Linked DNA regions of Homo sapiens: all the other regions are linked to region 1. The links are contacts of gene promoters, found by promoter capture Hi-C in blood cells and fetal thymus (Javierre and others, 2016). All regions are on one chromosome and are shown on one strand. The core of a region is centred on a gene start or on the middle of the fragment in contact, and the rest is flanking DNA. Distances in the headings are between cores, read along the strand shown.

Region 1 (2,700 bases), core at 189-2,688:
CAGGCTGATGTGAACACTTGCTCAGGAAAATGAGTAAAAAAAATTTATTCAAAATTTGTAGTTTTGTTTAGCAAAGAAGGGGACTGAGATGTCTGGGTCTTATTATTGACATGAGAGGACAGAATATCATTTAAAGCAGACCTACAGGGTTTTTTCAAGTACACATGATAAACTGGTGGTTTAACAATGAAGACGGAAATTTTAATTTAAATATTTTAAATCTTTAATTTAAAGATTTTCTTCACCTGGGATTAGCAAAAAGGAAAATCTTCCTAGCAGGTTACTGAGAACACCTTACTTCAACTACATATCCCCCCCACATCTGTTTTACTTACTCAGAAATTATGTAATATTACATTTAAACAAAAAGTTTCATGTGCAGAAAAAAAGAGATCTGAAATAATATTGAAATATTAATGTCCATGTATCTATTAGATAAAATTATATAAGACTCCCAAGTATTACTGTCATAGAAGGAAGGGATTTTTCCTTTTACAAATGACCCTTTCCAGGGCTCCCTTCATGTCTCTGTTCCTCAGGCTGTAGATGAAGGGGGTCAGCATAGGGGTCACCACAGTGTACATCATAGCCATGACAGTGTCCTTTAGAGTAGAACTATTAGCTGATGGGCATAAGTAGAGACCAATAACGGTCCCATAGAACAGTGACACCACAGAGAGGTGGGAGCCACAAGTAGAGAAGGCCTTGCAGATACCCTTAGAAGAAGGGACCTTGAGGATGGAGGAGACAATTCTTGCATAGGACCCAAGGATGAGTAGGAATGGGATGACAAGAATGAGCCCTCCCATGATAAATATCACCCATTCATTAACTCGAGTGTCAGAGCAGGCCAGCTTCAGCAGAGCAGACATATCACAGAAAAAGTGGGGGATCACATTGTCTGCACAAAAACACAACCTGGCCATGAGTAAAGTGTGTAACATGGCATGGAAGGTGGTCAGCACCCAGGACAGCGCCACCACGGAGAGACAGAGCATGGGGCTCATGATGGCGGTGTAGTGCAGGAGGAAGCAGATGGCGGTGTAGTGCATGGGGAAGCAGATGGCCACATAGCGGTCATAGGCCATGGCCACAAGGAGGAAGCTCTCTAGATCCGAAAAATACAAGAAGAAGTACATTTGGGTCAGGCAGTCTGCATAGGGGATGGATGGGTCTTGGTTCTGCATGTTCTGCAGCAATTTGGGCATTGTGACTGAGGAAAAGCAGAGGTCAGAGAAGGACAAGTTGCTGAGAAACAAATACACAGGCGTGTGGAGATGGGAGTCCAGTCGAATGAGGACAATGATGAGGAGGTTCCCCAGGAGGGTGGTAAGATACATGGCCAAGAACAGGGCATAGCACAGGTTTTGCTGCTCTGGTTGGATGGGCAGGCCCAGGAGCAGGAAGTCTGAGATGCTGGTTTGATTTTGTCCCATCATGCTCTGTCTCCAGTATCTTTAAGAGAATATAATAGGGTCCCTCAAAACCGTGAATAAAAATAAATATATTCCTATGATACATGGTCAACAGGTGTTCAATCACTGATTTCACCCTCATTTTCCCTAACAACAATCTCTATATTCAGAGATTTCTATAATTATTTCTATAATCAGAAATGTGCCACATCACAAAATCCACGCTACTTTTCACACTGATCCATCTCACTTTGCATAACATGTAGCAAGATTGACTCCTCCTTTCTTTCTAAAACACTCTTATCTATTAGCTTCCGTGCAATCACACTGGTTTCCTGACACATATTGGCCATTCCTTCTTAACAACTGTAAATGGTTTCTTCTCTAACAGTATCTTATACGTTGCTGTTTTCTGGGAATTTTTCCTAAATTCTGTTCTAATTCTACAGATCAAGCCCTGAAAGAGTTCACCTGTCCCCGTGACACTGATTACCATCTGAACTTCCTGGGTAAACCTATCATCATTAGTACTGCATTAGCAGTTGCTTCCTGATTATCTCCCTATGGATCATGACCATCCTCAGCTTAACAGATCCCAGATGAAACTCGTTATCTCACCCTGCCACTCTTCCAATTTGCTCCTCCAGTCTCTCATATCTCAGTAAAAGGAATCCAGGCTCAAGTCAGAAACCTGGGAGTTTTCTTTCATTTATTTATTTCTCTCAAGATCAACATCTAATCCTAGCAAGTTATATAGATTCTGTACTTCATTCTATTTCTAATTCACCCACTGCTTATCCCAGTTGCCACAATCTGGAACAGGCTGACATCTTTTCTTGTCTGGACTATTGGAATAGTCTCTTACTTCATCTCCCTGCTGCTATGCTCACTAGCCTTCAATCCATTCACACTGTGGCGTTCTTTTTTTTTTTTTTTTTTTTTTTTTGAGATGGAGTCTCGCTCTGTCACCCAGGCTGGAGTGCAGTGGCGCAATCTCAGCTCACTGCAAGCTCCTCCTGCTGGGTTCACGCCATTCTCCTGCCTCAGCCTCCCGAGTAGCTGGGACTACAGGCACCCGCCATCGCGCCCGGCTAATTTTTTGTATTTTTAGTAGAGACGGGGTTTCACCGTGTTAGCCAGGATGTTCTTGATCTCCTGACGTCGTGATCTGCCCGCCTCAGCCTCCCAAAGTGCTGGGATTACAGGCCTGAGCCACCGTGCCCGGCCACACACTGTGGCATTCTAAGATAAAAATCTGATCATCATTCTCCTGCTCAGAGTCCTT
Region 2 (2,700 bases), core at 184-2,683, 350 kb before region 1:
TCTACTTCTTCAGGTTGAAAGGTTGTGTGTTTCTAGAAATTTATCAGTTTCTTACAGGCTGTCCAATTAATTGGCTTGCAATTGTTTATAATAATCCTTTCTGACCTTTTTTAATTTCCATGGCCATAGATTATAGAAATTTCACCCCTTCTGATTTTGTTTGAGTATTTCTTATTTTAAAAATGATTCTAGCTAAGAGTTTGTTAATTTTTTCACATTTTTCCCCAAAAAACGATGTCTACTTTTGTCTATTTTTGATATTATTTTATGTTTCATTTATTTCTGCTCTATTCTTTATTATTTTCTTCCTTCTGCTAACTTTGGGTTTAATGTCTTATTTTTTACTTCCTTAAGTGTAAAGTTAGGTTGTTTATTTGAGATATTTCTTCTTTCATAATGTAAGTTTCTCACTGTCAATTTCCCTCTTAGTACTGCATTTGCTGCAACTTTTAAGTTTTTGTATGTTGTGTTTATTTTCATTGTTTTCCCTGAAATATTTTTTAATTTCCTTTTTAATTTCTTCGAGTCAATAGTTGTTCAGGAGTGTTTAATTTTCATATAATCTATAATTTTCCTATTGTTATTGAATTCATTTTTCATTTTTAATAGCCAGAAATGGCACACAGAATGATTTCAATCTTCTTAAGTTTGTTAACAATTATTTTGTAACCTAGCATGTGATTTTTCTTGGAAAATGTTCCATGTCTGTTTTAGAAGAATGTGTTTTCTGCTGCTGTTGGGTGGAATGTTTTGTACATGTCTGACTCATACATTGGTTTATGGCATTGTTCAGATCTGGTGTTTCTTTGTTGATTTTCTGTTCAGATTATAAATCCTTTATGGAAAGTGGGATATCAAAGTCTCCTACTATTATTTTATTGCTTTTATGTATCCCTTAAAATCTGTCAATGTTTGCTTTATATAGTTAGGTGCTCTGATGTTTGGTACATGTATATTTATAATTGTTATATATTCCTGTGGAATCAACCATTTTGTCATTATATAATGACCTTCTTTGTCTCTTGTAACAGCTTTTGAATTAAAGTCCATTTTATCTGATGTAAGTATAGCCACCCTGGACACTTGGTGTATTTGTTTGTTTTGACACTGTTGTAAAGAACTACCTGAGACTGGGTAAAGACTAGGTAAGGCAAAGAGCTTTGATTGACTCACAGTTCTGCATGGCTGGGGTGGCCTCAGGAAACTTACAATCATGGTGGAAGGCAAAGGGGAAGCAAGGCACATCTTACATGGCAGCAGGAGAGAGAGAAGGGGAGGGTGAAGTGCCACACTGTTAAACCATCGGATCTCATGAGAACTCACTCATTATCATGAGAGCAGTATGGGGAAAATCTGCCCCCATAATCCAATCACCTCATACCAGTTCCCTCCGCTGAAATGTGGGGATTACAATTCCAGATAAGATTTGGGTGGGACACAGAGCCATATCATATTATTCCAACCCTGGCCCCTCCCAAAATTCATGTTTTTCTCACATTTCAAAACCAGTCATGCCTTCCCAACAGTCTTAACTCATTCAGGCATTCAAAATTTTCAGTCCAAAGTCTCATCTGGGACAAGGCAAGTCCCTTCTGCCCACTACCCTGTAAAATAAAAAACAGGTTAGTTACTTTGATACTTCGAAGATACAATGGGGATATAGGAATTGGGTAAATGCTCCCATTCCAAGAGGGAGAAATTGACCAAAACCAAGGGGCTACAGCCCTCATGCAAGTCCAAAACCCAGCAGGGCAGCCATTAAATCTTAAATCTCCAAAATAATCTCCTTTGACTCCATGTCTCACATCCAGGGCACACTGATGCAAGAGGTGGGCTCCCAAGGCCTTGGGCAGCTCCACCCCTGTGGCTCTGCAGGGTACATACAGCCCCTGCAACTTCTTTCATGGGCTGGCATTGAGTGCCTGTGGCTTTTCCAGGCACCTAGTGCAAGCTGTTGGTGGATCTACCATTTTGGGGGCTGGAGGATGGTGGCCCTCTTCTCACAGCTCCACTAGGCGGTTCTCCTATGGGGGGCTCCAGCCCCACTGCATTGCCCTAGTAGAGGTTCTCCATGAGGGCTCTGCTTTTGCCACAGACTTCTGCCTGGAAATCCAGGCATTTCCATACATCCTCTGGAACCTAGGCTGAGATTCCCAAACCTCAACTCTTGTCTTCTGCATACCTGCAGGCCCAACACCACGTGGAAACCACCAATGCTTGGGACTTGTACCCTCTGAAGCAATGGCCTGAGCTTTACCTTGGCCCCTTTTAGCCATGGCTGGAGCTGGAGTGGCTGGGATGCAGGGTGCCATGTCCCATGGCTGCATTGAGTCTTCTAGTCTTCCATGCCTGTGATTGAAGGGGCTGCTGTGAAGGTCTCTGAAATGCCCTGGAGACATTTTCCCCATTGTCTTGACTATTAACATTCGGCTCCTTGTTACTTATGCAATTTCTGCAGCCAGTTTGAATTTCTCCCCAGAACATGGGTTTTTCTTTCCTACTGCATGGCCAGGCTGCAAATTTTCCACACTTTTATGTTCTGCTTCTCTTTTAAACATAAGTTCCAATTTCAGATAATGTCTTTGTGAATGCATATGACTATAGGCTTTTAGAAACAGCCAGGTGACATCTTGAATGCTTTGCTGCTTAGAAGTGTCGTCCACCAGATAACCTAAATAATCACTCTCAAGTACAAAGTTC
Region 3 (2,700 bases), core at 75-2,574, 280 kb before region 1:
CGATTTTCCAGGTGCCATCCGTCACCCCTTTCTTTGACTCAGAAAGGGAACTCCCTGATCCCTTGCGCTTCCCAAGTGAGGCAATGCCTTGCCCTGCTTCAGCTCGCGCACGGTATGCGCACCCACTGACCTGCGCCTACTGTCTGGCACTCCCTAGTGCGATGAACCTGGTACCTCAGAGGGAAATGCAGAAATCACCCTCTTCCGCGTTGCTCATGCTGGGAGCTGTAGACCGGAGCTGTTCCTATTCAGCCATCTTGGCTCCTCCCCAAGAGAGAGCTTTGTTTTAATAGCTGCAAATATTTTTGATTCATAACCTTGAGACAATTTGTATAATTTCCTATTTTTTGTAGGAAAACATACTTGTTCACTTAAAGTTGTAAAGTCTTTCTTTGCCATCTGATATTGACTTTATTGCTAATATTGTTATTAGCCCACTTTCCATGACTTCATTAAGTTTTAATAAACTAGCATATAACAGGCTACACGGGCTTTTAGAATTAAAAGCATTGCAAAAGTCACGCCTCCTTGTGAAAAATTATTAATAGGTTAAATGAGCAAATAAGGCGCTCTTCACAGATGAAGCACGAAGCAAAATCTTGATTTTCCTTCAAACTTGCAGTGCGCATTCAGGGAGGGGAGTGCTGAGAAGGGATATGTGGGATTCCGAAATTACACACTTGAGGTAGAAATTTCTGTCAAGCCCCTCACTGGAGGGGATGGAGAACACCTTGGGTTTCTCAGCAGAAGTCACTGGCCCTGTGAGAAGGAGACCCTGCCCTTGAGAAGTCTAACCACCGCCGCCTTCATGTCCTTGTTCCGCATGCTGTAAATAAAGGGGTTCAGCAGGGGAGTCACCACTGTGTACATGACAGCAGCCGCTGTATCCTCCTTTACTGAGTTGGAGGAAGAGGATGAGGGGCACAGATAAGCCCTGATCACTGTCCCAAAGAACAAAGCAACAACAACGAGGTGAGAGTCGCAGGTAGAGAAGGCCTTGCGCCTTCCCTGGGCAGAGGGGGCCCTGAGGATGGCTGAAACAATGCGGATATAAGAGACCAGGATGAGCATAAAAGGGATTAAAATGACTGCTCCCCCTAGGAAGAGGAGCACAAGCTCATTGACCTGGGCGTCAGAGCAAGACACCTTCATCAGCGGTCCCAAATCACAGAAGAAGCCAGGAAGGATCTAAGAGCACAAGGAAAGCCGGAATATGAGGAAGGTGCGAGTCATGGCGAGAAGACTTGTGAGGGTCCAGCAGGCTGTCACCAGGAAGGCACAGCGGTGGAGGCTCATGATCATCATATAGTGGAGCAGGTGGCAAATGGCCACATAGCGGTCATAGGCCATTGTAGCCGGGAGAAAGATGTCCATGTCCCCAAAAGTCAAGAAGAAGTAGAGCTGTGCCAAACACCCTGCGTAGGAAATGGACCTGCTCTGGGTCTGGATATTCACCAGGGCCTTGGGCACAGTGGTGGAGGTGGAAAAGATATCTGCACACGACAAGCTGGCAAGGAAGAAGTACATAGGGGTGTGGAGGTGTGTGTCAGTGCCAATGGCCAGGACAATGAGCAGGTTCCCAGCCACAGTGACCACGTACATCCACAGAAACAGCAGGAAGAAGATGTGTTGCTGCTGTGGCTGGTCTGAGAGTCCCCAGAGGAGGAACTCAAAGGTGCTAGTCTGATTCCCTCCTTCCAGGAGCTCAGAGGTCGGAGGAAAAAAATCTTGAGTGAGCCCCATTAGAATTCTATAAAAATGTTTTACTTTAGATTGGTGAGCATGCTATTCTCTGAGCTTTAAGGAAGAAGAAGAAGAAAGAAAGAAAGTACTTTTATTGGCCATCTACTATGTTGCACTGTAAATTTTTACTGAAATACACTATGCTAGAAAGTGTGCGAGATACAACATAAGGTAATTAAAATACATTTCTCGTTTGTTTTTCTACACTCTTTTCCATCCCAAATTTCTTTAGTTGTACTCTCAGAGGAGTTAAGATGCTTTCTTTCATTAATTTTACAGAAATTAATTACTGACTCTGGACCTGGCACAGTGATAACCCTTAACCTCAGGGAATTTTCGATCTAATGGGCTAGACATAACTGCTTCTATTAAAATCTTATATGAGTTGGATACAAGTTTTCCAGCCATTCACCTGCTTTCAAACCACTCTCAGACCCCAAGACTGCACCTGTTCTGATTAATCAAGCCCAAAACTCAATATTCTCTGAAGATGCAATTTCATGTTATCTATTCTTCTGGAAACCAATTCAACAATCAACTATTTAGAGAATCTGATTTGTTCTTTGGAGTTTCACTGACACCTCAAAAAGTAACCTGTATATAGTGGGTCTTTACTAGTCTCCAGAATCTTAAACAGGACAGGACCGAATGTGTCCTGAAAGAGAAGCTGAAGGCCAAAACTCAGCAATCAGGTAACTCAACCCAGGGTTACCACTGGAGAAGCAGGTAGGGCTATTCTGATGGAAGAGGCCTTCATATGGATAGAAACATCAGCAATAGGCCGGGTAAGCTGACTCAGGCCTGAAATACAGCACTTTGGGAGGCCTGGGTGGGCAGATCACTTAAGGGCAGGAGTTCGAGAATAACCTGGGCAACATGGTGAAACCCCATCTCTACTAAAAATACAAAAAAATTAGCCTGGTGTGGTGGCAGGCGCCTGTAATCGCAGCTACTCGG
Region 4 (2,700 bases), core at 32-2,531, 410 kb before region 1:
AGTGTTTCCTTTAGGGGTCCAAAAGTATTCTAAAATCAGATGGTGGTGATAGTTGCACAACTCTGAATAAACTAAAAGCCATTGCATTGTATACTTTAAATAGGTGAGTTCTGTGGTGTGTAGATTCTGTCTCAAGAACACTATTATTTAAAAAGTACATTGACGGCCAGGTGCGGTGGCTCACGCCTGTAATCTCAGCACTCTGGGAGCCCGATACAGGCAGATGACTTGAGGTCAGGAGTTCGAGACCAGCTTGGCCAATGCAATGAAACCCCATCTCTACTAAAAGTACAAAAATTAGCTGGCCATGGTGGTATACGCCTGTAATCCCAGCTGCTTGGGAGGCTGAGGCAGGAGAATCACTTGAACCTGGGAGGCGGAGGTTGCAGCAATCCAAGATCGCACCACTGCACTCCAGCCTGGGCAACAGAGCGAGACTCAGTCTCAAAAAAAGTGCATTGAGGACACGGCCATCCCATCCCCAACAGCCAGCACAGGGAGCACTGTGGGCACTGTCCATGGTCTTTGTTACACTAAAGGAGAAGGATATTGTTGGCTGAGAGTACCCCTTGCTTCCCAGCTCCCAGGGCAGCCTCCTCATGTGGGACCAGGAGCTCGTATTCTAGTCTATATGAAGGATGGCCCCCCGGGACTTCCCAGGAGTCCATGTGTATTGGGTGGTTCCTGCGGTGGGGGCGGATGTCATAGACTCTGCCATATTCCCTGCTCCATTCCCCACGGGGCCCTCTCTTGACCCACAACTCCGCCAGGTGTGATGGCCAGCTTGGGTGAGAGAGATCTGGGCTAGAGGCCGTCAAGCCAGGACTCCTGCTTGGCAGCTCTGGACTTCACCATGAACCTAGAATAGTCCCTGTTGTAGGGACCGGGAAACCCTGTAGTATGCCGCCATCTCTGGGGGGCTCAGGTGGGAAAGGACATCCAGGCAGTGATGCCAGGCGGGGGCGCTCTGACCCCACTGCCCCTCACCGTGCCGAGAGAGGCTCTGCCTGGGGCCGTGGATGGGGTGGGGGTTGAGGGCTGTCTCCGCGGCCTCACTCCTCATTTCCATTCCCTCAGTGACAGCACATCCAGCACACCCAAGACCCCAGATGGTGGACACTCCTCTCAGGAGATAAAGTCTGAGACCTCATCCAATCCCAGCTCTCCGGAAATCTGCCCCAACAAGGAGAAGTAAGAGAGTGAGGGTGGGAAAGGCCAGCTTCGGCCACGTGGAGCCCTGGAACACGCCCTCTGCCTCCTGGCCAGCTGAGAGTGGCCATCTCCTGCCTCTGGAACTCTCCAGAACACAAAGGCCGACGGGTGGGGGCGTGGGGAGCCGCCAGAGGTCCCGGGGAGGACCCTGGGGGTGGAGGGCTCTCGCGTGTGACCCGGGCTGGCCTCACTTCCTATTCCCTGCAGGCCCTTCATGAAGTTGAAGGAAAACGGCCGTGCCATCTCCCGCTCCTCCTCCAGCACCAGCAGCGTCAGCAGCACTGCAGGGGAGGGCGAGGCCATGGAGGAGGGCGACAGTGGGGTAGGTGTGCCCCGTCCACCCTTGGGCAGGCACTCTGGGGCGTCAGCCAGCCACCCTCCTTGCATTAAAACGGCACTGTGGATCGAAGCCCATGTCAGTCTTTGCAGAGGAAAGGGGAAGAATGGAAACGAGAGGTGGGCTCGTTGGCCATCACCACCCCCTGGGCGCAGTGGGTGAGGGGACCTCTCTCTCAGAGTGACATAGCAGCAGCAGAGGGCAGGGGCCAGACCCGATGGTGCCCTGCCTTGGGGTTCCTGGCTGGAGTGGTGAGTGGCCAGTGCCCCAGGGGGCTGGGTCAAAGGTCCTTCTTGGAGCAGGATAGCTTGGAACCAGGGTTGAAGTCAGCAGGAAAGAAAGAGCAGGCCCAAGTGGGGAGCAGGAGGCAGCGGCTGTCCTGGGCTTTTGGGGGCTGCCTCAGGCCTGCGTGGGCGCAGCTGCCGAGGGTGGGCTGGCCTCGCTCACCCTGCCTCTCTCCTCAGGGCAGCCAGCCGTCCACGACCTCACCCTTCAAGCAGGAGGTGTTTGTCTACAGCCCGTCCCCGAGCAGCGAGAGCCCCAGCCTGGGGGCAGCTGCCACCCCGATCATCATGAGCCGGAGTCCCACAGGTCAGTGGCATCTGGTGGTGTGTGTGACGTCACCAGGAGGGCAGGCTGTGCCCTGTCCACTGTTAGCAGGGCCCCAGCCACGCTGAACTGGCCAGTTTTCACCCCTCCTCCCAGCTGTGAGGCCCTCCGCTCTGTGCGCCCGCCTCTTCTGTTCATCAGCCTTAAGATGCCCAAGTTCCTAAGCTCTTCTTACACTGAGAGTTGTGAAGCTGAGGCAGAGAGTTGAAGGCCTTGTGGGAGATCCCACAGCGGAGGAGTCGGGATTGGCAGTGGGAAAGCTGAGCACTTTCCATTAGCCCTTCTCCCCACCTGCCAGTGCTCCAACCCTTCTCCCCACCTGCCAGCGCTCCAGGGCTGCCAGGGCCCGTCTGTCATGTCGGGGGTCTTGATAATACAAGACGGGGGAAGGGCTGCAGGGGGAGGGAACAGCATGTGGAAAGGCCCAGAGGAGAGGAGAGAGCGGGTATTCCGGAACTGCACGTGTTCATGGCAGCTGGGTTCACAGAGCCAGGCGTCAGAGAGGCCGGAGCGTTGACAGGCTGGGTCAGCCCCGGGCCCCG
Region 5 (2,700 bases), core at 72-2,571, 260 kb before region 1:
GCAACCACTTGCTAGAGATACTTGCATAACTAAAGGGAAGGCAAGTGCTACTATCCAAGACAATGTGAAAAAGTCCTTGAAAGCATTTCAGAGACCTTCATGGCAGCCCCTCCCATCATGGATCCAGAGGCCTAGGAGGGAAGAATGGTTTCTTGGGCCAGGCTCAGGGTTCTGCTGCCCTGTGTAGCCTTGGGACACTGTTCCCATATCCCAGCCACTCCAGCTCCAGCTGTGATTCAAAGGAGCCCAGGTACAGCTCATGCTGCCACTTTGGAGAATGTAAGCCATAAGTCTTAGTGGCTTCCATGTGGTGTTAAGCTTGCAGGGGCACAGCAAGAGTGAAGGAGGCTTGGCAGCCTTCACCTAGATGCCAGAGGATGTATGGGAAAGCCTGACATCCAGGCAGAAGTCTGCTGCAGAGGCAGAGCCCTCACAGGGCAGTAAGGAGAGGAAATGGGGGATTGGAGGACCCATACAAAGTGTGCCCACTGGGGCACAGCTTAATGGAGCTGTGGAAAAAGGGCCACCACCCTGCAGACCCTAGAATGGTAGATCCACTGGCAGCTTGCACCCTATACCTGGAAAAGCCACAGGTACTCAACTCCAGGCCATGAGAGAAGCCACAGGGGCTGAACCCTGGAAAGCCACAGTGGTAGAGCTGCCCAAAGCCTTGGGAGGCCATTCCTCATATCAGTGTGCCCAGGATGTAGGACACGGAGTCAAAGATTATTTTGGAGCTTTGAGATTTAATGACTGCCCTGCTGGGTTTCAAGCTTGAGTGGAACCTACAGCTCCTTTCTTTTGGCCAATTTCTCCCTTTTGCAATGAGAATGTTTAACCAATGCCTATAGCCCCATTGTATCTTGGAAGTCCATAACTTGTTTTTGATTTTATAAACTCAGGTGGAAGGGATTTGCCTTGTCTTGGATGAGAAATTGAACTTTTGGAACAAGTTAAGACTTTGGGGGACTGTTGAGAAAGCATGATTGTGTTTTGCAATGTGAGAAGTACATGAGATTTGTGGGGGACCAGAAATGGTATTATATAGTTTGGATATTTGTCCTTGCCCAAATCTCATGTTGAATTATAATTTCCAGTGTTGCAGATGGGGCCTGATGGGAGGTGTTTGGGTCATGGGTGGAGATTCTCCATAGCTTGGTGCTTTCTTGTGATAATAAGTGAGTTCTTGCAAAATATGATTAAGTGTGAAGCACGCCCCTTCCCCACCTCTCTCTCTATTGCTCCCATTCTCACCATGTAAAGTGCCTCAAACTTCCACCATGAGTAAAAGCTATCTGAGGCCTCCCCAGAGGCAGATGCCAGTGTTATGCTTCCTGTATAGGCTGCAGAACCATGAGCCAATTAAACCTCTTTTCTTTTAAATTATCCAATCTCAGGTATTTGTTTATAGAAATGCAAGAACAGCCTAATACACCTGTCAGTATTTCTTATGGGCCTGTGGTGGTGGTGGACATGGGGAGAGACTCCTCTGTCTGAGGAAAGGTGGGGGAAGAGTGGGAAGGCCTTTTTCTTGTGGTTTGGGTGTCATCTTCAGATGCAGTAAATTGAGCACCAGGTAGATTTCTAAGGCTTCCAACTATAGGCCCTGGCTCCCAGATGGCATCTCTGGACTCACCCAGGGCCTGGGTGACTTGGCAGTCCAAAGTGAAGAAGACAAGCCTGGTTGTCTTTACCACCTGCTGACTGTAGAGCCCTAGGGCCTTGAGCAAACACAAGTGGTAGCCAAGGAGTGGTAACAGTGGGTCTTGGATGATACCCAGTGCTGTGCTGTCTTCAGGTCTGACCCAGCACAGCCCTAGTGGTGGTGGCCACAGGAGTACTTGTGTTACCCCTCCCCCAGGAAGCTCAGGAAGCTTCCAGGAAGCTCAGCACAGAGAAGGGGAGAGAGAGATTCCATTTGTTTTGGAAAAAGTAAGGGAAGAGATCAAAAGTTTCTGCCTGGTACTCCAGATAATCCTTCTGGACCTTATCCAAGACCACCAAGGAGGTAGGTACCTCTACAAGTTGGCAAAAACCACAGCATTACTGAGCTTGAGGTGCACCCTAATGCAGATATGGCTGCAGTGACAAAAAAAAATGTAGATCACAACACCCAAGTCCCTTCAAATACCTAGAAAGCATTTCCAAGAGGACAGGTACAAACAAGTCCAGACTGGCAAGACTACAATAAATATCTAACCCTTCAATCCTCAGCCACTGAAAAACTTCCACAAGCATCAAGACAATCCAGGAAAACACGGCCTCACCAAATGAACTACATAAGGTAAGAGGAACCACTCCTGGAGAAACAGAGATATGTGAACTTTCAGAGAGAGAATTCAAAATAGTTGTTTTGAGGAAACTCAAAGAAATTCAAGATAACACTGAGAAGGAACTCAGAATACTATCAGATAAATTTAACAAAGAAATTCAAATGGATAAAAAGAATCAAGTAGCAATTCTGAAGCTGAAAAATGCAATTGACCTGCAAAAGAATACAGCAGAGTCTCTTAATAGAAAAAATGATCAAGCAGGAGAAAGAAATAGTAAGCTGGAAGACAGGGTATTTGAAAATACACAAAGGAGGCAAAAAAAAAAAAAGAATAAAAAAGAATGAAGCATACCCACAGGATCTAGAAAATAGTCTCAAAAAGGCAAATCTAAGAGTGATTGGCCTTAAAGAGGAGGTAAAGAGATAAT

Evidence for each region. The method cuts DNA at HindIII sites, captures the fragments that hold promoters and counts their contacts. A CHiCAGO score of 5 or more calls a contact.
Region 2: a fragment that was not itself captured here is called in contact with the fragment with the promoter of OR1E2 in region 1 in 2 of 17 cell types (M2 macrophages and M1 macrophages); the score reaches 7.6 in M2 macrophages.
Region 3: a contact is called between a fragment that was not itself captured here and the fragment with the promoter of OR1E2 in region 1, in 2 of 17 cell types (M0 macrophages and M2 macrophages). The highest score is 5.9, in M0 macrophages.
Region 4: a fragment that was not itself captured here is called in contact with the fragment with the promoter of OR1E2 in region 1 in 2 of 17 cell types (M0 macrophages and M2 macrophages); the score reaches 5.8 in M0 macrophages.
Region 5: a contact is called between a fragment that was not itself captured here and the fragment with the promoter of OR1E2 in region 1, in 1 of 17 cell types (M2 macrophages). The highest score is 6.8, in M2 macrophages.

The regions. Positions count from the first base shown.
Region 1 is chr17:3,432,403-3,435,102 of GRCh38, forward strand. It overlaps OR1E2 (olfactory receptor family 1 subfamily E member 2), which reads right to left and starts at 1,439. Exons shown (of 1, transcript NM_003554.2): 1 at 468-1,439. The coding sequence starts at 1,439. The coding sequence ends at 468. The HindIII fragment of the contact is 9,794 bases long and covers 1-2,700 here.
Region 2 is chr17:3,077,827-3,080,526 of GRCh38, forward strand. No RefSeq gene overlaps it. Among named protein-coding and RNA genes, the nearest start is that of OR1D5, 16 kb to the left of the region's middle. The HindIII fragment of the contact is 4,058 bases long and covers 1-2,700 here.
Region 3 is chr17:3,153,140-3,155,839 of GRCh38, forward strand. The region is part of intron 3 of LOC100288728 (a long non-coding RNA gene); the gene reads right to left. It also overlaps the pseudogene OR1P1. Among named protein-coding and RNA genes, the nearest start is that of OR1G1, 27 kb to the left of the region's middle. The HindIII fragment of the contact is 5,658 bases long and covers 1-2,700 here.
Region 4 is chr17:3,024,931-3,027,630 of GRCh38, forward strand. RAP1GAP2 (RAP1 GTPase activating protein 2) reads left to right here. Exons shown (of 25, transcript NM_015085.5): 20 at 1,078-1,191; 21 at 1,420-1,534; 22 at 2,014-2,140. Among named protein-coding and RNA genes, the nearest start is that of OR1D5, 37 kb to the right of the region's middle. The HindIII fragment of the contact is 6,980 bases long and covers 1-2,700 here.
Region 5 is chr17:3,171,311-3,174,010 of GRCh38, forward strand. All of the region lies in intron 1 of LOC100288728 (a long non-coding RNA gene), which reads right to left. Among named protein-coding and RNA genes, the nearest start is that of OR1A2, 25 kb to the right of the region's middle. The HindIII fragment of the contact is 1,101 bases long and covers 772-1,872 here.